Linked DNA regions of Homo sapiens: all the other regions are linked to region 5. The links are contacts of gene promoters, found by promoter capture Hi-C in blood cells and fetal thymus (Javierre and others, 2016). All regions are on one chromosome and are shown on one strand. Each heading gives the region's core, a stretch centred on a gene start or on the middle of the fragment in contact. The rest is flanking DNA. Distances are from core to core; before and after follow the strand shown. Region 1 overlaps APLF (aprataxin and PNKP like factor). Region 2 overlaps APLF (aprataxin and PNKP like factor). Region 3 overlaps APLF (aprataxin and PNKP like factor). Region 4 overlaps GFPT1 (glutamine--fructose-6-phosphate transaminase 1). Region 5 holds the start of GKN2 (gastrokine 2). Region 6 has its middle 14 kb from the start of FBXO48. Region 7 overlaps APLF (aprataxin and PNKP like factor).

Region 1 (2,700 bases), core at 62-2,561, 480 kb before region 5:
ATAGTCTTGGTAGTAAAACAGTTTGACAATGAGAATGGTTTTGTATTTTTATGGTGGTAGGAAAACACAACAGAGAAACCTGTCACAGAGAACAAAGGACAATGAAATTTAATCTTTCTTGTTCCCTTTGCTTTCATGTGAGTCATCAGAGAACCCCAGGTCTTTGTTTACTAGATTTTGATTCTGCTCCATGATTGGCATCAGTTAGAAGGTTTTACAGCAGGATTAATCTTCAGAGAACTTGAGTTAAAACAGCCAATCCAAAAGATTACATATTGTGTGATTCCATTTATATAACATCATTGAAATTGCGAAATTGCAAAATTTCAAAAATGGAGAACAGATTAGTGGTTGCCAAAGGTTAAAAAATTAGGCAGCAGGGCAGAAGGGAATGGATATGGCTATAAAATAGCAACATGAGGGATATTTGTGGTGATAGAAATGTGCTTTGTCTGGACTGTGTCAGTATCAATATCTTAGGTTGATATATTGTACTATAGTTTTGTAAGACGTTACCATTAGGGGAAACTGGATAAATGGTACAAGAGATATTTCTATATTATATCTTTCAACTACATGTGAATCTACCATTATCTTAAGAAATTTAATTTAAAAGGGTTTTACAGTACGACATGTCAAGCACTGTTAGGCCAAAGTATTTGCTTTATGGGTTTTAATTAAAGCTGTTACACTCTTAAATGAAATCTACTATTTCTGATTTCAGATTTTTCTTATTTTGTTTTGACAGCAGGGATTATATGACACATTTCTTTATGATCTATTTTCCTCCTAGGAAACAAGATAGCAAAAGATATCTAGTGATACTTTCTCAATGTAGATGTAATTAAATTGACTGCTTTGATTAAAAGGAGAAGAGTCCTCAGTTGGGGGAACAGGGAAGGTCATAGGCTTCAGTATAGACTCTTCAGGTGGCATCAGTTCACCACTTCTAAGAATGTTGTAAATGTTCTACAAAGTTTACACAAAGTAACCATCCCCTGACCTGGCAGCTCTATACTTTTAACTGCTTGTTGCAGAATCCTGGCTGTCCTGGAATGCTGTTCCTACCTGCTCCAACATAGGTTTCTTCCCTTACGTTTCTTTTATTTCTAGATTTGCCCTTCCCTCATTTTATTATTTAGCCTACAACCAGTGCCTAGCACACAGTAGGCCTTTAACACGTGATTTCTTCCTTCCATTTCGGCATCTCAGCCTCTCATTCACTCTACCCTCAAAAAGAGCCTAATTGTGACTTAGATATGAAAAAGGGTTATCATTGAGTTTTGAAGTGAATTTAAATATAGTAAAGATGCAGTCCTACCAACTGCTAAATCTTGAGTAGCATTCATAATGAATTAAGTTTTAACATTTTTCCTGTTTTGTTGATTGATAATTCGCTAAATTCAGGAAATAGCTGATAAATATATACTATGGTTGGATGGGAGGGAGTATAGGAGAAATAAAGGTGAATGAGAAACAAGTCTTTGCTCTCAAGAAACTTATAGTTTTGTAGGGTTAAGAGACAAATAAACAAGTATTAGTAACTAAATAAGGCTACAACCTCACATGGGGACTGGCGCCAGGCTGACACTTGGAGTAAGCGAAGTGGGAGGGAAGAAGAAAAACAACACAGGGACAGTGATAAATGACAACAGTTCTGCCTCAGTGTTGGGAAGGCCACAAGGAGAGGGTCTCTATGCAATCCCTGCTACTTTCCCCTATTCCCAGTTGGTAACAGTGTCATATTGTTTTTTTAAGAATAGTAAGAAATTTGAATTTTTAGATATAATCACTGATTTTTAAAAGGTCACATTTTTATTAAAAGTTTTGGTTAAATACCATGAGTCTGTTGATGAAGAGTTAAATTCTATAAAATATTTCAAGAGATTTATTCTGAGCCAAATATGAGTGACCATGGCCCGTGACACAGCCCTCAGGAGGTCCTGAGAGCATGTTCCCAAGATGGTCAGGGTACAGCTTGGTTTTTATATATTTTAGGGAGGCATGAGACATCAATCAAATACATTTAAGAAATACATTGGTTTGGTTCAGAAAGGCAGGACAACCCAAAGCAGGGGCTTCCAGGCTATAGGTAAATTTAAACATTTTCTGGTTGACAATTAGTTGAGTTTATCTCAAGACCTAAGATCAAAGGAAATGTTCAGGTTAAGATAAAGGATTGTGGAGACGAAGTTTTATTTTGCAGAGCTCTCAGATAGCGGACTTCAGAGATAGCAGGTTGTAAAATGTTTCTTATGAGACCTGAAAGAGTGCCTGGCTCTTAATTGATTATCTCCTGGATCTGGAAAGGAAGGAAGGAAAACAAAGGGGAAAGGGAATTCTCTATAGAATGTGGGTTTTTCCCACAAGAGACTTTGCAGGACAGTTCCAAGGTATGGCAAAGAAATATATTTTAGGGTAAAACATTTTGATTTTCTTCCTTGTTATGCCTGAGTCAGACTGGAAAGTAAGTCACGTTATACAGGGTTAAATAAAACTCATCTGATGAGAATTTATGGTTTGTAGGGCATGACTCCCCAGACCCCTTAGAAAGGAATTTGGGCAAGATAAAAAAAAATAATAATCAGAGCTTAGTCCTCAAGCTAGACAGAATGATGTCACAGGGTACAGAGAGGTATAAGAAGGAACCTGAAGTTAAGAGGTGGGATCAGGGAAAGAAAGCTTCATGAACTTGGTAGC
Region 2 (2,700 bases), core at 183-2,682, 440 kb before region 5:
TATACAAAAATTAATTCGAGATGGATTAAAGACTTAAATGTTAGACCTAAAACCATAAAAACCCTAGAAGAAAACCTAGGCAATACCATTCAGGACATAGGCATAAGCAAGGACTTAATGTCTAAAACACCAAAAGCAATGGTAACAAAAGCCAAAATTGACAAATGGGATCTCATTAAACTAAAGAGCTTCTGCACAGCAAAAGAAACTACCATCAGAGTGAACAGGCAACCTACAGAATGGGAGAAAATTTTTGCAATCTGCTCATCTGACAAAGGGCTAATATCCAGAATCTACAAAGAACTCAATCAAATTTATAAGAAAAAAACAACCCCATCAAAAAGTGGGTGAAAGATATGAACAGACACTTCTCAAAACAAGACATTTATGCAGCCAACAGACACATGAAAAAATGCTCATCATCACTGGCCATCAGAGAAATGCAAGTCAAAACCACAATGAGATACCATCTCACACCAGTTAGAATGGTGATCATTAAAAAGTCAGGAAACAACAGGTGCTGGAGAGGGTGTGGAGAAATAGGAACACTTTTACACTGTTGGTGGGACTGTAAACTAGTTCAACCACTGTGGAAGACAATGTGGCGATTCCTCAGGGATCTAGAACTAGAAATACCATTTGACCCAGCCATCCCATTACTGGGTATATACTCAAAGGAATATAACTCATGCTGCTATAAACACACATGCACACGTATGTTTATTGCAGCACTATTCACAATAGCAAAGACTTGGAACCAACCCAAATGTCCATCAATGATAGACTGGGTTAAGAAAATGTGACATGTATACACCATGGAATACTATGCAGCCATAAAAAAGGATGAGTTCATGTCCTTTGTAGGGACATGGATGAAGCTGGAAACCATCATTCTCAGCAAACTATCGCAAGGACAAAAAACCAAACACTGCATGTTCTCACTCATAGGTGGGAATTGAACAATGAGAACACTTGGACACAGGAAGGGGAACATCACACACCAGGGCCTGTTGTGGAGTGGGGGGAGGGGGGAGGGATAGCATTAGGAGATACACCTAATGTAAATGACGAGTTAATGGGTGCAGCACACCAACATGGCACATGTATACATATGTAACAAACCTGCATGTTGCGCACATGTACCCTAGAACTTAAAGTATAATAAAAAAATAATAATATACAAAAAAAGAAAGTGAAAAGACAACCACAGAATGAGAAAATATTTGTAAATCACATATAACAGACTTATATTCAGAATATCTAAAGAATCCTCAACAATGCAAAGGCAAACAACCCAATTTTAAAATGCATAACTGATTTGAATAGACATTTTTCCAAAGAAGGTGTACAGGTGGTCAGTAGAACATGAAAAAATGTTCAACATCACTAGTCACAGGGAAATGCAAATTAACACCGCAATGAGATACCACTTTACATCTACTAGGAAAGCTATAATCAAAAATATAATAACAAGTGTTGGTGAGGTTGTGAAGAAACTGAACTATTATACATTGTGGTGGGATTATAAAATGGTATAGCCTCTTTGGAACATATTCTGGCAGTTCCTCAAAAGTTTAAACATGGAATTACTGTGTGGCTCAGCATTTCCACTCCTATGTATATACCCAAAAGAATTGAAAACCTATGTCCACATCAAAACTTGTACATAGATGTTCACAGCAGCATTATTCATAATAGCCAAAAAGTGGAAATAACTCAGCTGTCCAGCAACTGTTGAATAGATAAACAAGTATTGTATAGTCATACAGTAGAATATTATTTGGCCATAAAGAGGAATGAAATATTTACATATGCTACAACACAGGTGAATCTTGAAACATTATGCTAAGTAAAAAAGCTAGACACGAAAGACCACATACTGTATTTCATTTATATGAAATATGTAGAAAATGTGATCTTTGGAGACAGAAGGTAGATTAATGGTTGCGAGGAGCAGGAGGAAGAGGCAATAGGAAGAGATTGCTAATGCATATGGAATTTCTTTTTGAGGTGTTGAATATGTTCTAAAATTAGATATTGGTGATAGTTGCACAACTCTGTTAACATACTAATAACCACTGGATAGTACACTTTAACAGGATGAATCTTATGACTATATGGATTATTTTTCAATAAAGCAGTTATAAAAAAGGATAACTCAATTACCTTTACTAGACTACATTTAACTTTCCAAGTTTTAATTTTTTATTTAAAATATTCTGTAGTGATGCTTTATAAATCCTGTGATAGTTGATTACTCATAGATGTATTTGAAGATAAAATAAAAATATATATCACAGTGACAGTGTTTTATATTTAAATAAATGTGTAGTAGAATAATTTGTACTTGTACTTTTTGAATAAAATGTTAAATAGAATTTTGTTCTGAAATTTTTTTTGTTACGTTTATTGTGGGTAACTATTAATAAAAATTACATATGGACTATAGAGTGTATATGAATTCATCTCAGACTTATGCCACAATAGAAAATAAACTAGAAATGGAATTGATGATGTTACTTAATTCCTAATACTATAAATTGTGAAAAATCATCAAACTACTATTGAATGTTTCTTAATATTTTTCATGTTAAATATTAAGAAAACTTGAAAAAAATTATAATTTGGAAGTACACCTGTAACCTGTGAGTAAAACAGGACTGGGTATTGTAGTGGAGTGAACTTTCATAGCTAGGACAA
Region 3 (2,700 bases), core at 34-2,533, 460 kb before region 5:
GGTTATATTTTAACATATTCTCTATCACTCTGTATAGAGTTGAATATTTCTAAAACTTAGACTTTGTTCAACTTCGAGGTTTGAAAAATGATTTTAATTTGAAAGTTTTTGTTGAGGGCTCGAATTTTAATTGCTTGCTTTATAGTTTACTGCTGCGAAATCACTGATGATATGCAGGGACAGCCAGTTTCCAAGAATATACAATGTGATTATTCCTTTTCATTTGCAGAGTCTATTGTGTAAGAGAATGAAATACGTACATAAGGGTCCATTTATTTTAGACTAGATCGTATGGTGGTAAAATTTCATGGAATTCATTAATTTATAACTTTTTAAAACCAATTTGTATTTTCATATTTTATATACCACTGCCTGTTAAATCATTAGTTCTTTCTTTTACACAGATAGTACTTGCTTTTATTATCCTATGTTTAACTGTTTGCAAATTTGGAAAGCATCTTTTTAATTTTAGTACTTGGAAATTTTTTGAATAAAAAATTATTCAATGTATTCACCTTATCTCAACCTTGAATAAATAATCTTTAAAAGAGTTTATGTCTCATCTTCATTCTGCATTATCTTATTGTCTTGAAAAAGTGTTAATATCTGGAGTCAACACTTCTTTAGGAGCCACTGTATTTACCATTAGATATTCATCTCTGTATCCTCTCCAGCTATCTTATTCTTCTGAGATGACATACTGGATCATAAGGCCCTTGAGTGTAGGAACTCTGACTAATCTTTGTATCCCTAGTGTTTAGCATAGTGCCTAAGACATAGTAGGTATTTAATTAATATTTGTTGAATGCATGAGTAAACGCTGTGGTGAGAACTATCTATGGCATATCTAGGAGTGGGAACATGGTAGATTTTTACAAAAGTATGTTATTCTCTAGTGCCCAATTTCTAATACCCTGCCAATGAACTACCATGGCCTAAAATAAGTTTTTTTGTTGTTACTAAAGCACATTAAAGGAAAGAATAGAGGGATCTTGAAATATAGAAATGATTATTTTTTATTTATATAGATTTAGGGAGTGCAGTGCAGTTTTGTTACATGATTATATTGTGAAATGGTGAAATCTGAGCTTTTAGTGTAACCGTCACCTGAATAGTGTACATTGTACCCATTAGGTAATTTCTCAACCCTGTCCCACCTCTCACACTACCACCCTTCTGAGTCTCCAGTGTCTGCTCTGCCACTGTGTCCATGTCAGCACATTTATTTTGTGAACAAATTAACCAGTGGAATTGTGGACAACTCAATAGATATCAGATTTTCTCTTTACACTCTTTGTTTACTCAATGATAAGAAGAAACCCTTCTTATAACAAAATTGACATGGCATTAAATTTTTTTATATCAAAAATAGGTGATTAGAAAACCGTCATATTTACTAATGCATGAATATTTTAAACATTTACATTTTTTCTCAGTGTTAATCAAGGACATTTATATTTTAAAATGTTTTATAAATTGGCTTTAATAAAGGTGCTTAGTTGGAGTTGTGTCTATACTTGGCTGAAAATTATTCAGATATATTTTGTACTTTTGTGGCTATTCAAAAGAGTACTAATAAGGCTGGGCGCGGTGGCTCACGTCTGTAATCCCAGCACTTTGGGAGGCCGGGGTGGGTGGATCACGAGGTCAGGAGATCGAGACCATCCTGGCTAACACGGTGAAACGCCGTCTCTACTAAAAATACAAAAAATTAGCCGGGCACGGTGGTGGGCGCCTGTAGTCCCAGCTACTCTGGAGGCTGAGGCAGGAGAATGGCGTGAACCCGGGAGGCGGAGCTTGCAGTGAGCCGAGATTGTGCCACTGCACTCCAGCCTGGGCGACAGAACGAGACTCCGCCTCAAAAAACAAACAAAAAAAGAGTACTAATAATGTAAAATAAATATGCCCAAATTAAAGGTGATTTTATTAGTTGAAAATCTTACCTTGAGTTAAATTTTATCCAGTATGTACTGAGCCAAATTTCTATGTGAGATTTTAGCAGTGTTCAGTTATAAAAAGGCTCCTTTTTAAAATACTCTTCACTTTTACTGGGTCTTTAATTAGATGGTACGCAGATCATAAAACCACTATGTATGACATTAACAGGTGTCTTTTGAGCACAAAACTGTAGTAGAAATAATACTAGAAGCTAGAGCAAAAATTCCTCATGACCACTAGATATAAAACTAAAATTTGGAATGATTTATTTAAGTTATACCTCTGTTTATGATCTTTTAAATATTATTTAGTGTAATTTTGTAAACTTTCCCATAAATGTGATGTTTAGACATGGGAGAAAGGTAGCTCTTTTTTATCCTTTTTCGAGTACCTTTTTTTGACAACTTAGAATGTCATAGCCTTCTGGAGAACGTCTGATCTTAAATACTCAGCAAATTCTAGAATGGGAATGAGAGCCCAGGTTCTTTGAACTCTGTAGTATTTTTTTGTTGTTGTTATGTTTCTGAAGTCAGGATTCTCTTGGCATTGGGTGTCTTTTCTTTAAAAAAATTTCTTCAAGTTACAACTAATTGATGATCTGTCTTAACAAGAAGTTTTAGTGCCTTCAGTTGAATAATATTTTAGAACTGAAAGCAACCTTAGATTTGGACTTATGTATGTGGAAATTTGACTGGGCCAGGGCTAGCATTGCGTATCAGTGGGGAAGAGGAGTTTTTATCAGTAAATGGTACTGGGACAGTT
Region 4 (2,700 bases), core at 77-2,576, 400 kb after region 5:
CATGTTATATATAAGAAAACTAAAGCACAAAGAGAATAAAAAGGAACAGAACATTAACTATTTTTATGTTTATAAAGTATCTTTAAAGTATCAAGTGTTAATAACCTTTTTATAATGTTACAAATAACAAATCATTAATTAGTTTGAAGACGATTGTAAAAACAGCAGATAATTTCTCTAAAGAATCATCCCTTTTCCTAGCGTTGTCCCTTCACTAATCATGTGGAAGATTCCACTCATCATTCATTACTAGATTTAATATGCTAGGAAAGGAAGTAGAATATATTCTTTCCAGTAAGGACAGCAAGCTATAACATGACAAAAACTTTCACCCTTCATGATCTGCTGGAGTTCCATCTGGAGTGTTTGCACAGCTCGTCCGGGGTGATCTCCTGCAGTTCGTTTAATTCGATGGATAGAAAGACGTCCATCCACTACTGCTGCAACATCATCATCTTCCAGAAAGATGACGCGATTGGTGTGTTCTATGACAGCACTATAAAGTTTTCAAGGAGATATTACAATCGATAACCAAGGATCATTATTACAAATGAAACTATCATTTGGATACAAGAACCAAATTTCAATATAAACTCTATCACTCTGCAGTATCTCAGAGAATTTTCTGGTTACTAATGCCAACCCCTACAGGAAAGTATGGGGAAGGTGGTCATTGTGGACAAAAAATAAAAGGAACTCTGCATAGCAATCTAAACCAAACAGATTAGATCAGAAAGCATGGTTGTTTCCTCCTCATTCTATCCATTACCAAGTCCTGAAATTTTAACTTCCAAATATTCTTAGTTTCTATGTCCACCACCAGACAAATTCAAGCTCCCATCAGCTCCTCGGGTGGACTACTGCAGCGATCTCCCAATTAGTCCACCCACTTTCTCTCTGATCTCTCTCCGTCCATCCTCCATTTCTGCCAAAATTGATATCAAAAGGCAACAACTCTAATAAAGATTTCTCCTTCACTCAACAAACCATTTGACAGTTTCCCTTTGGCTCTCAGAGAGACAACAAAGTGCCTTACCGTAATCCCTATACCTCCTTCTCCAGCTTCATCTCCCCCCAAGCTTCCTCTCACTCTCTCTATTCTGGCCACACTCAAAGCCATCCTAAACTCTCACAGGCTGAGCCATTTGCAAAGAATGAATGTTCCTCCCTCTACCTGTTAACCTAATTAACTCCTAATCTCTCCTTAACTCTCAGTTCAAACATCATTCCCTTAAAGAAATTTACCCACCAAGGGTAAATCACTCTGTTACTAGCATTCTGCAGCTCTTGTCACAGCTGGAATTCTACACTTCTGTGATCATTGTTTAAAATTTGCCTCCTCACTATGGAAGAGCTCCTAAGGAAAAGTAATATTTTTATTTTTACTCACCATTATCTCCTGACGCTAGCATATGACTTCACCCAGTGTTCAATATGAATGTATAAATGAATGAGAAAAGGCTGATATGTTTCTGTAATTCCAGTGTATTTAAGCCATAACTGTCAACTGTGTAATCTTACACATCTTAGCCCTGACTACACACCTTACACACCTGTAAAAACATTAAAGAGTAAAGCTTGTTTTCCCACTGAGATAATATATTCCCTGATGTCCTAAATGGCATTATTTTCTTATTTTTATTATTTTCTCTTATTTTCAGGTACAGTGGATGACTCAAATACTTGTTTGCAATTTCGGTGATTTTATTTTATCCTCATTACTATTTCATTTACAAATGCATGTAAACATCCCCCTGCATTTTCTCTCAAAATATCTTAGTCTACTACTATCCCTTTATAAAAATGATTATGCTGCAAATTAATTCTAAATGTAAAAGATGAGTATCTACATTAGACTAAAACTACAATAGTTTAGCAACTATGCTATAACTATTGGGATACTAACTAAGCCATTTTACTCTTCAATCTAGAATCTCCTCCCTTCAAAACCTGGATAAGGCTCCTGAAATAAGAAGGAAAAAAATGTAAGAGCTCTAAAATAAATACACTGGAACAAGTCTCAAGCAGTATATGTGTTCTTAGTAAACTGACCCACATACTTTGAAATGACAGAAAAAGTGTCCTTACAGCCCCATCTCCAAAATGGTCACCTGTATTTCTTTAATTTAAAAAGTTATCTCACAGAGCACAACTAGACTGATACACAATGACTTCTTGGGTTTCCTGCAGAATGAGAAGTTTTACTAAAAATCTCTTTGAATCAACTAAGGAAGCTCACCTTGCATCAGAAGCAAAGTAATACTCCACTGCTTTTTCTTCCACCGGGAAAAGGCAGGTTGTGCTGTCCACACGAGAGAGATTGCAGCTTCCTTTCTTGTCTTTGCCTAAAGCATATAGTTAACATGAATTGGCAAACATGTAGAAAATCATGTCCAATGTAGAAATATGCATAATATTCTATAAAATCAAGAAAAAATCATAGCAACACAAAACAATTTTAGCAAATTTAAAAAGCCAAGTAGATCACCTTATTTCCATGCAATAAGCCAATAAGAACAGACAAAAAGTGTACAGTGAAGTAGCAACTATCAAAGAGTGCGTGGCAGGTAAAAGTGCTACATTATATGTTTTTTTAATATAATATTTATTTTCCAGGTAAAAGACAAGTAATTCCTTAATATTAACCGGTTTTTTAAATCAAAAGTATGTATAAATTAATTTTAACTTTATACAAAACAA
Region 5 (2,724 bases), core at 34-2,533:
CCCTTTCCATCCCACCCTTAATATTTCTCTTCTGGGGACTGGGAGTAGAGCATCTAACAAAGACCTGTGTGCTGATATTCAGCCTTCCATAGGGATACATCTTCTCTTACCACAGACCAGCTCCAGCAACATATGATACTCCCGTATATTCTAGTTAATGAGTCTAAAATAGTGGTTTGAACAAGTAGTCGAAGGACTAAACCACTTTAATGGTATGATTAGAGAGAGCTTGGGGAGTGTCCTCTGCCCCAAAATGATCTCCCTTCCAACACTGTGGTTAATACACCATGGTTATATAATACTTTTGTGCTTCAGGGTTAGGTCTCAATTTGGAAAATCAAGACAGCCCTGAGAGAGGGAGCTCTTTAAGCTGATAGTCTTTAACACTTTAGAAAGAGGTACTTAACATTTTGCTTTCTCCCTTAGCAGCTGAATGAGAATAAAGGACAGAGACTAGGGGAGCGAATTCCATTCTAGGTCAGAACATAGCCCACTGTCCATGGGGCACTGCAATGTGGAACTACGGAGGCTGGGATCAGATGGAGGGGTGGAGTGGCCATAGAAGGAACGTTTTGTCCTAAGGGAGAATTTAGTCATAATGAGAGGACATTGAAGACACTCTGGCTGCTTAAATTTGCCATGATTGCGCCTGCAAGTGGGGATTCAGATGGATAAATTACATTCTAAATCCCACATTTACGGGCTTGGGAAAATCACATTCCTCTGCCTCTCAGTCTCCTTATCTGTAAAACGGGGAGAATACTACTCAACTCATAGGGTTGTTGCAATGAATAGATGAAATTATTCATGTGATATGCTTAGTCTAAGGCTTAGTATGCATTTGAGAAATGAGAGGTACTATTATTACTATTACTGATATTATTTTTAAACTACAGCTTCTCTCTTAGATAGCAAATGTAGTTGTTTTAAATAGCCCAAATTCCCTATGAAGCTCATAATAAAGGATTATTATTAAACATCCTCCAAATCAAAATTATCTAGAGATTTCTTTGTATTTTTGAATTTTCTTTTAAGTAAACATCTCAAAACAGGAAAAGGACAAAAAAAGTCAGACTTATTCAACACTATTTCTGCCAAAGATGTCATTAATTCAATCACAGAAGCTTAGAAGCATGCACAGTATCTGTCTAAGACTCCCAAAATCCATGGCATATTAGATATGAGCATTGTCTGCAAGCAGTCACCACAAGAGTATCAAGAAGCAGAAACAAATACTCACAAGTATTTTCATTTTGCCTGGGAGAGGAAGGTGCTGGAGTAAGTAAAGCTGCCCTGTGCAGCTTCTATCCTTTATATGGGCTTGAAGATGTGGATATCTCTTTTTCAAATGATCACTTTGGAAAAGACCATGTCTATATCTCTGACACACCCTAGCAAACTCCTTTATCAGAATTGAGATCCAACCACATACCTGATATCAATGAAGTTCATTAGTCAGTAATGAAAATTCACCACTTGGTCACTCTGTAAATATTCCCTGCTATTTGTACTATGCTGCACTTGACATTTTAATTTCCACCCTTTAAAAATATTGCATGATGCTTGTTCTATGCATACATTTTATAGCTCTACAAGGACAAACTTCTAACATCTCCTCCTAAAGGAAGAGTGCTTCCTTAAGGCCTGAGTTGGGCCCCAACTCAATGTCTTTTCACCACTGTTCTGCTGGCTGAATTCTTCCACAGAGGGAACGGATATGAGACGGGGTGCCAAGACAGTGGCTGGGGAGGCCTGCTTGGAGAACAAACAGCCTAGGACTTTCTTCGTTCTTCCCTTTAGATTTGGTGTCAATTTCCAGAAATTAATGAGGAACAAGACTCAGAAAGCATTCTCCCCAATTACCAAGTTTAACCAAATTTTTACATTAAGCTTCGCCCAAAACTGCACAAAACTGTAAGTTAGAGACCTCTAGTTATCTTGCAGAGTATTAAGAAATTCTTAGATTGAAAAAAAAAAAAAAGAGAGAGAAAGAGAATAAAGTTTAATTTGTGTAATTTTTTTAACATGACAATTAGAAATGGCTAGTTAGTGTCAGGGTATAATCATGAACTCAGGAAGGGAAATTTAAAAACAAAACAAACAACAACAACAACAAAAACAATAAACTGCGGCTGGGCGCAGTGGCTCATGCCTGTAACCCCGGCAATTTGGGAGGCCAAGGCGGGCAGATCACCTGAGGTCAGAAGTTTGAGACCAGCCTGGACAACATGGTGAAACCCCGTCTCTACTATGGTGAAACCCCGTCTCTACTAAAAGTACAAAAAAATTAGCCAGGCGTGATGGTGCTCGCCTGTAGTCCCAGCTACTCAGGAGGCTGAGGCAGGAGAATTGCTTGAACCCGGGAGGCAGAGGTTGCAGTGAGCCAAGATCATGCCACTGCACTCCAGCCTGGGTGATAGAGCAAGATTCCATCTCAAAACAAAACAAAACAAAAAACCCCAGTAAATTGCAAAATTGTAAAATATTGAGAATCACCACAGTAAACAAAGAGATAACATAAATAATGGCCTTGTTCTATAGCTGAAACAACTTTCTAACTTTAGCAGCTTTAAACAAAAATGGGGTTCTCAAAAAGTAGACATCTGGGCAAGTTAAGGGTTACCTAGTTCACTGGAATCTCCCTACCCTGGCTGTTCAGTGGGGGTGGATGTAAAACACGCAGCTTTATTAAATCTTTCTCAGATAGTAGCTGCAGAAAGGATT
Region 6 (2,700 bases), core at 128-2,627, 500 kb before region 5:
AATGTATATTATATATATTATATATAAAATGTATATTATGTATATTATATATAATGTATATTATGTATATTATATATAATGTATATTATATATAATATATATTATATATAATGTATATTATATAATATATATTATATATTATAATATATAATATACATTATATATTACATATTATATATAATATATTATATATTATATATTACATATTATATATAATATATTATATATTATATTAAATATATATTTTATATATTATATATTATATATTATATAAAATATATATATTATATATTATATAAAATATATATATATTATATTATATATTATATTAAATATATATTTTATATATAATATATATAATATATAATATATAAAATATATATTATATATTATATATAAATTATATATATTATATATAAAATATATAATATATATTATATATAAATATACATATTATAGATATCTATTCTTTATCCACTCTTCTTGGTTGATGGACATTTAGGTGTTTTTTTAAAATGTAGTATAAACCAGTAGTTCCTAACAAGAGGGATTTTCCCCCAGGAGACATTTGGCAATGTCTGGCGACATTTTTGGTTGCCAGCACTTGGGAAGTGGTGCTACTGGCATCTAATGAATAGAGGCCAGCGGTGCTGCTAAACATTCTACAGTGTATACGACAGCACCCCTGCCCCTCCCCCAAACAAAGAATTATCCAGCCCAGAATGTTAATAGTGATAAAGTTTAGGGACCTGGTATAGACAGAGATAAAGCACACATGGTTAAAGTTAACAATTGGTTAATCTAGGTGATGATGCCATATTCTAGACTTTGAAATTTTTTGTAAGAGTGAAAACTTTCAAAATAAAACATTTAGGGAGAAAGCACGTTTAAAAATATATAATAAAAGTCTGAGAGAGAAAAAAAAAAGTTGAACTGATGAAAAAAGTAGGCCATACACAGGAAAACAATGGCAAAAGCAGTCCTTTTTATTTTCTTCACTAACCAATGAGAATAAAGACAGGAAATTGTGCTCAATCTACTTGTTAGGCAACAAAAAAACACAACCACAGCAATAAGTGGGGGAGATTCTCACGTGTGATTTTTAGAAAGCTTCTTTTATGGTTTTACATATTTTCTATCAGGATTTCATTGTGTGACAAATGGACTGTATAATTTTGTCATATTAAAAGTAAATCAAAATGAGCAAACTGGGAAACCAGCAGCTGGGTTTTTTTCCCCTACAAGGCACAGAAGACCCATAGCAGAAAAGTAGGCCTCAGAAAATGATTATTAAAAATTTCTTTTGGGCCAGAACAGTGGTTCATGCTTGTAATTCCAGCACTTTGGGAGGTTGAGGGGAGAGGATTGCTTGAGCTCAGGAGTTCGAGGCCAGCCTGGGCAACATAGTGAGACCCAGTCTCTAAAAATAAATAACTAAATTAATTAATTAAGAAAAATTTTTTCTTGAGCAGTTAATGTTTATGATAATACAGTATGATTGGTGTGGTACTTGTAAAACTGCAGTTTTATCTTTTTTTATTTCCATCCGGCCCTGACTGGGTAAGGACAAGGAGGTATTGGAAAATGCAAACAGGTTCATGAAAAAAGTCAGTTTTACTTGTGGTAGAACTCAATATAAGGATGTCAAGCTTTTATTAGAAACCCAACCCGCATGCCTTGTTTATTACCTTCTTCTGTCTCAGCTGTTCTTTATAGTTTTTACTCTTTCTTCCTTTTCCAGCATTATTTTATTGTGTAGAGTAATACTAGAATGGGTTGTTTTTTTTTTGTAATACATTCCGCTGTATTTTCCATGCCCAGTAATTCTTATTTCTCTGCAGCTCTCTGCCTGGAAAGACAGGCATCCAGTGCTTTGTGGGTCTGGTAGGTACAGCCGAGAATAAAGAAGTCAGAACTCAGCTTTGAATTTCAAAAGACTTTTTTCAAGCATAGAAGACTCAGAAGTCTTAACTGCTAGGCTTTCAACTGAGAAACGAAAATAAAATCCAAAGGTCCCCCCTGCAACTGACTAAAAGGACTCCCCTCTTGGCTAAGGAGATCCTAGAGAAATCTTAAAAGCTGAATTCCCAGCCATGATGGATTGGGAGGTCAGACATGCCCTGTTATACTCCCTCCCTTGCTACTTGCCATTATACTTCCACTCCTAAGTGTTAAACAGAAACAGGCCCTTTCTGAAGACTTGCTGGACTCTTCTTCCTTTTTGCAGTTTGACACAACAACTGACCATCATTCCTTCCTGATAAGAGGCCACTAACCATGGACTGGTTCTGGCCGGTTTACAGAAGCTGCACACAGGATGCTTCTGTGTCCTCTGTTTCAGCTTTTGACGTATAGAGCCTAATTTTAATACATTTAAATGTTAAGTTTCCATCCTAAAGTGAACATAGGATGTAGGTAACATACATGTTAGCTTGCTGTGCATGAGTGCACTCCCCTTTTGTGAATATTCATAGCTCCTCCTATAGCCTGTTAAATGTATATACTTAGCTGACCCTTTCAGCCTAAATTCCTGTCTTACCCTTCCCTCCCTAGAAGTACCTGCTTCTGGTTTCTGCCAGAAGCTACCCTTCCCAGGCTGTGGGATGGCCAGCCTGCAGGCTGCAACCCTTTATAAGAAATAAAGCTCTCCTTTCCACATTCATGAACCTCGTGATTCTTCAGTTGGCACAACAAAATGAT
Region 7 (2,700 bases), core at 176-2,675, 420 kb before region 5:
AGTCTTCGAATATATTCTCCTCACTCCTACCCTCTCTCCCAGAGAGAGGAACCAGCTTCTCACTGGAGCCTGTCTTCCAGCTACAGAAGTGGGGCCTGGTCGCTATACACTCAGTTCCTTTGCTTTACTTATGGAGGCAAGCTTAATAAATGAAAACAAAATGTTTTCTGGCTCACATATATTTTCCATAAAACTTATTAAAACAAAATTTGTTTTGTATAAACTTTGAGCCCTTATGTACTCTATTCTCTGAACTCTGAACATGTCAATTGACGTTGCCTTTTTTCAAGAGAAATTATTGTGTTCAGAAGAAAATCTGTAGTATACGTGTTTTCCTCTGTTTATCCCAACCCATAAGGTTTGATAATCACAAGAAAAACTTTGAGAAACATCTTAATTGATAGATTATAGAGAGGAGCAGATCCAAGATATTCAAGCTATTTGTGAGGTTTTGATGACATCAAGGGAGTATTACAACCAGGTCCGAGGAATGCCCAAGTTCTATTTGGCCAGTTGCTTTTCCTTCCCTTCCTTGTGAGGAAGATTTACCTCTTCTAGCACAGGAAAAATAAGGCTTAAATTTTCATGATCCTTTATGCAGGGCTCTCTGGTAAAGCTGAGCCAGAGAATATGACTTAGACTGAAAATCCCAGCAGAGCCTTTCCAAACCCCACCCTCCATCCCTGCCCAGTTTGAGTCTGAACACTGAACCTTTAGAACAGCTAGTCCTAAAGGGATAGCTGTAGTGCAGAGCAGGTGAGAGAGAAAACAAGAGGCTAGGTTCACCTATCTATTCTAATGGCAGGAGGTTGCCAGCTACAAAAAACTAACAACAGTTTGGCCAGGCCTACATTTGGATCAATCTACTTGGAAAGAATTACATTCTCTTAGGGAAAAGTAGGAGAATCAGTGGAGAGAAGGGACAAAAATCACTTATGCCCAACTAGACCTTGTTTCTGAGATTCTGATTCATTTGGTGTGTGGAGCCTGTGCATCAGTGGTATCTTAAACTCTCCCAATTTTAGTGTCCCTTCAAAATTAAGAGCTACTGTTGTATCATCATTGAACACCTCAGAGGAAACTGAGGCCCAAGGTCACATTGTTAGGAAACTTGGCTTCAAATGTAGGTATTTTCATTTTGGGTATAATGAATTTTTCTACCATACGTATTAGACTATGTAAAGAGTTTTGTGACTGTAGTAACTTCTCTTCATAAGACAGTTGTCAGAAATAGTCTATATTTTTCATCAGTTCTTGTATGTCTTTCTACAACTCCTTCCCAGTTATGTGACTTTCTAATTTAGATGTGAAAATGAGGGTACTTGAATTGATTAACTTTAGTGAAAAGGATGGTTGCCATGGTTTGAGTGTTTTTATCTCCTCTAAAGATTTATGTTGAAACTTAATCCTCAGAGCAACAGTATTGGGAGGTGGGCCTAATGGGAGGCTGTTTAGGTTATGAGGGCTCTGTGCTCATGAATGGATAATGCTGCTATAAAAAGGGATTGTGAAGCTGGATGCAGTGACATGCACCTGTAGTCCCAGCTACTTGGGAGGCTGAAGCAGGAGGACTGCTTAAGCCCAGGAGTTTAAGGCCAGCCTGGGTGACGTAAGGAGACCTCATCTCTAAAAAAAAGGTCGGGGGCTTGGCTTGTAGAAGTGGGTTTACACTCTTTCACTCTTCTGCCATATAAGGGCACAGCATTCATCCTTTCATGCCCTTCCACCTTCCCTCATGTAAGAATGCAGTAAGGAGCCTCACACCAGATGCTGGTGCCTTGATCTTGGACTTCCCAGACCCCACAACTGTGAGATAATAAATTTCTGTTCTTTATAAATTTTCAAGTTTGTGATATTCTGTTATCACAGCTACAAAACAGACTATGTATTTCCTTTATAATCTATATTATATTATAATCTAATGAGAACTCTTGTAAATGACAGAAGGAAGCCTAACTGAAACAACATAAGCGAAAATAGTATGGTAAAGTGTTTTAACTGTCTATTGCTGTGAAACAAGCTACTCCAACTCTTAGTGGCTTAACACAACATGATCATGTCAGTGATTATGATTATATTCTGCCTTATAATTGTGTGGGTTGGCTGGGGTCAGCTGGGCAATTCTTTTATGACATGTTTTTGGTGTCAGCTGGGCTTCATTCAGCTGAGAACTCAGCTGAAGATGAAGCATCTGTGATAGCTTTACTCGTGTGAATGGTGCCTCAGCAAAGGTTGATGGAATGGCTGGGGGCTGGCTGGGCCCACCTCCCTCCCTGTACCATGAAGTAGCCTAGACTGAGCATCTTCACCTGACATCTGGGCCCCAAGAGAGTGATGTCAAAGCTGTTAGATCTTTTAAGGCCTAGAACTGGAATTGTAATTTTTGCTGAATTCTTTTGGTCAGAGCAAGTTACCAGGTCTCATAGGGTGAAGACAGCAGTGTGACCAGTTCATAGAGAAGGGCCCTTGAAATGTTTTCAGTCACAGAGGTAATCCTGGCAGCTCACTAGAGGAGAGATTGGAAAAGAACAAGATAAAAGACTTGGAGGTAAGGGAAGAGATTGTGGCATTAACAAAGTGAAGAAATAGAGAATCTAAACTAGGGCAGTGACTTTAAGGATGGTAAGAAGTATTGGATTATAAAAGTATTCAGGAATAAAATTGTAGGACTTCTTGCTTGGATCTGGGGAGAGAGGGCAA

What was found. The method cuts DNA at HindIII sites, captures the fragments that hold promoters and counts their contacts. A CHiCAGO score of 5 or more calls a contact.
Region 1: a contact is called between a fragment that was not itself captured here and the fragment with the promoter of GKN2 in region 5, in 8 of 17 cell types (activated CD4 T cells, naive B cells, M0 macrophages and 5 more). The highest score is 8.5, in activated CD4 T cells.
Region 2: a fragment that was not itself captured here is called in contact with the fragment with the promoter of GKN2 in region 5 in 6 of 17 cell types (naive CD4 T cells, total CD4 T cells, naive CD8 T cells and 3 more); the score reaches 8.6 in naive CD4 T cells.
Region 3: a contact is called between a fragment that was not itself captured here and the fragment with the promoter of GKN2 in region 5, in 8 of 17 cell types (activated CD4 T cells, total CD4 T cells, total B cells and 5 more). The highest score is 10.5, in activated CD4 T cells.
Region 4: a fragment that was not itself captured here is called in contact with the fragment with the promoter of GKN2 in region 5 in 1 of 17 cell types (M1 macrophages); the score reaches 5.1 in M1 macrophages.
Region 6: a contact is called between a fragment that was not itself captured here and the fragment with the promoter of GKN2 in region 5, in 9 of 17 cell types (activated CD4 T cells, naive CD4 T cells, total CD4 T cells and 6 more). The highest score is 17.4, in activated CD4 T cells.
Region 7: a contact is called between a fragment that was not itself captured here and the fragment with the promoter of GKN2 in region 5, in 6 of 17 cell types (activated CD4 T cells, naive CD4 T cells, non-activated CD4 T cells and 3 more). The highest score is 8.4, in activated CD4 T cells.

Annotation. Positions count from the first base shown.
Region 1 is chr2:68,469,943-68,472,642 of GRCh38, forward strand. All of the region lies in intron 1 of APLF (aprataxin and PNKP like factor), which reads left to right. Among named protein-coding and RNA genes, the nearest start is that of APLF, 3.7 kb to the left of the region's middle. The HindIII fragment of the contact is 2,738 bases long and covers 1-2,680 here.
Region 2 is chr2:68,509,055-68,511,754 of GRCh38, forward strand. All of the region lies in intron 3 of APLF (aprataxin and PNKP like factor), which reads left to right. Among named protein-coding and RNA genes, the nearest start is that of APLF, 43 kb to the left of the region's middle. The HindIII fragment of the contact is 6,502 bases long and covers 1-2,700 here.
Region 3 is chr2:68,490,618-68,493,317 of GRCh38, forward strand. The region is part of intron 2 of APLF (aprataxin and PNKP like factor); the gene reads left to right. Among named protein-coding and RNA genes, the nearest start is that of APLF, 24 kb to the left of the region's middle. The HindIII fragment of the contact is 4,870 bases long and covers 1-2,700 here.
Region 4 is chr2:69,347,839-69,350,538 of GRCh38, forward strand. GFPT1 (glutamine--fructose-6-phosphate transaminase 1) reads right to left here. Exons shown (of 20, transcript NM_001244710.2): 10 at 2,240-2,345; 11 at 333-496. Among named protein-coding and RNA genes, the nearest start is that of GFPT1, 38 kb to the right of the region's middle. The HindIII fragment of the contact is 498 bases long and covers 1,078-1,575 here.
Region 5 is chr2:68,951,610-68,954,333 of GRCh38, forward strand. GKN2 (gastrokine 2) reads right to left here and starts at 1,284. Exons shown (of 6, transcript NM_182536.3): 1 at 1,241-1,284. The coding sequence starts at 1,252. The HindIII fragment of the contact is 766 bases long and covers 1,123-1,888 here.
Region 6 is chr2:68,451,694-68,454,393 of GRCh38, forward strand. No RefSeq gene overlaps it. Among named protein-coding and RNA genes, the nearest start is that of FBXO48, 14 kb to the right of the region's middle. The HindIII fragment of the contact is 539 bases long and covers 1,109-1,647 here.
Region 7 is chr2:68,531,433-68,534,132 of GRCh38, forward strand. All of the region lies in intron 6 of APLF (aprataxin and PNKP like factor), which reads left to right. Among named protein-coding and RNA genes, the nearest start is that of APLF, 65 kb to the left of the region's middle. The HindIII fragment of the contact is 2,573 bases long and covers 140-2,700 here.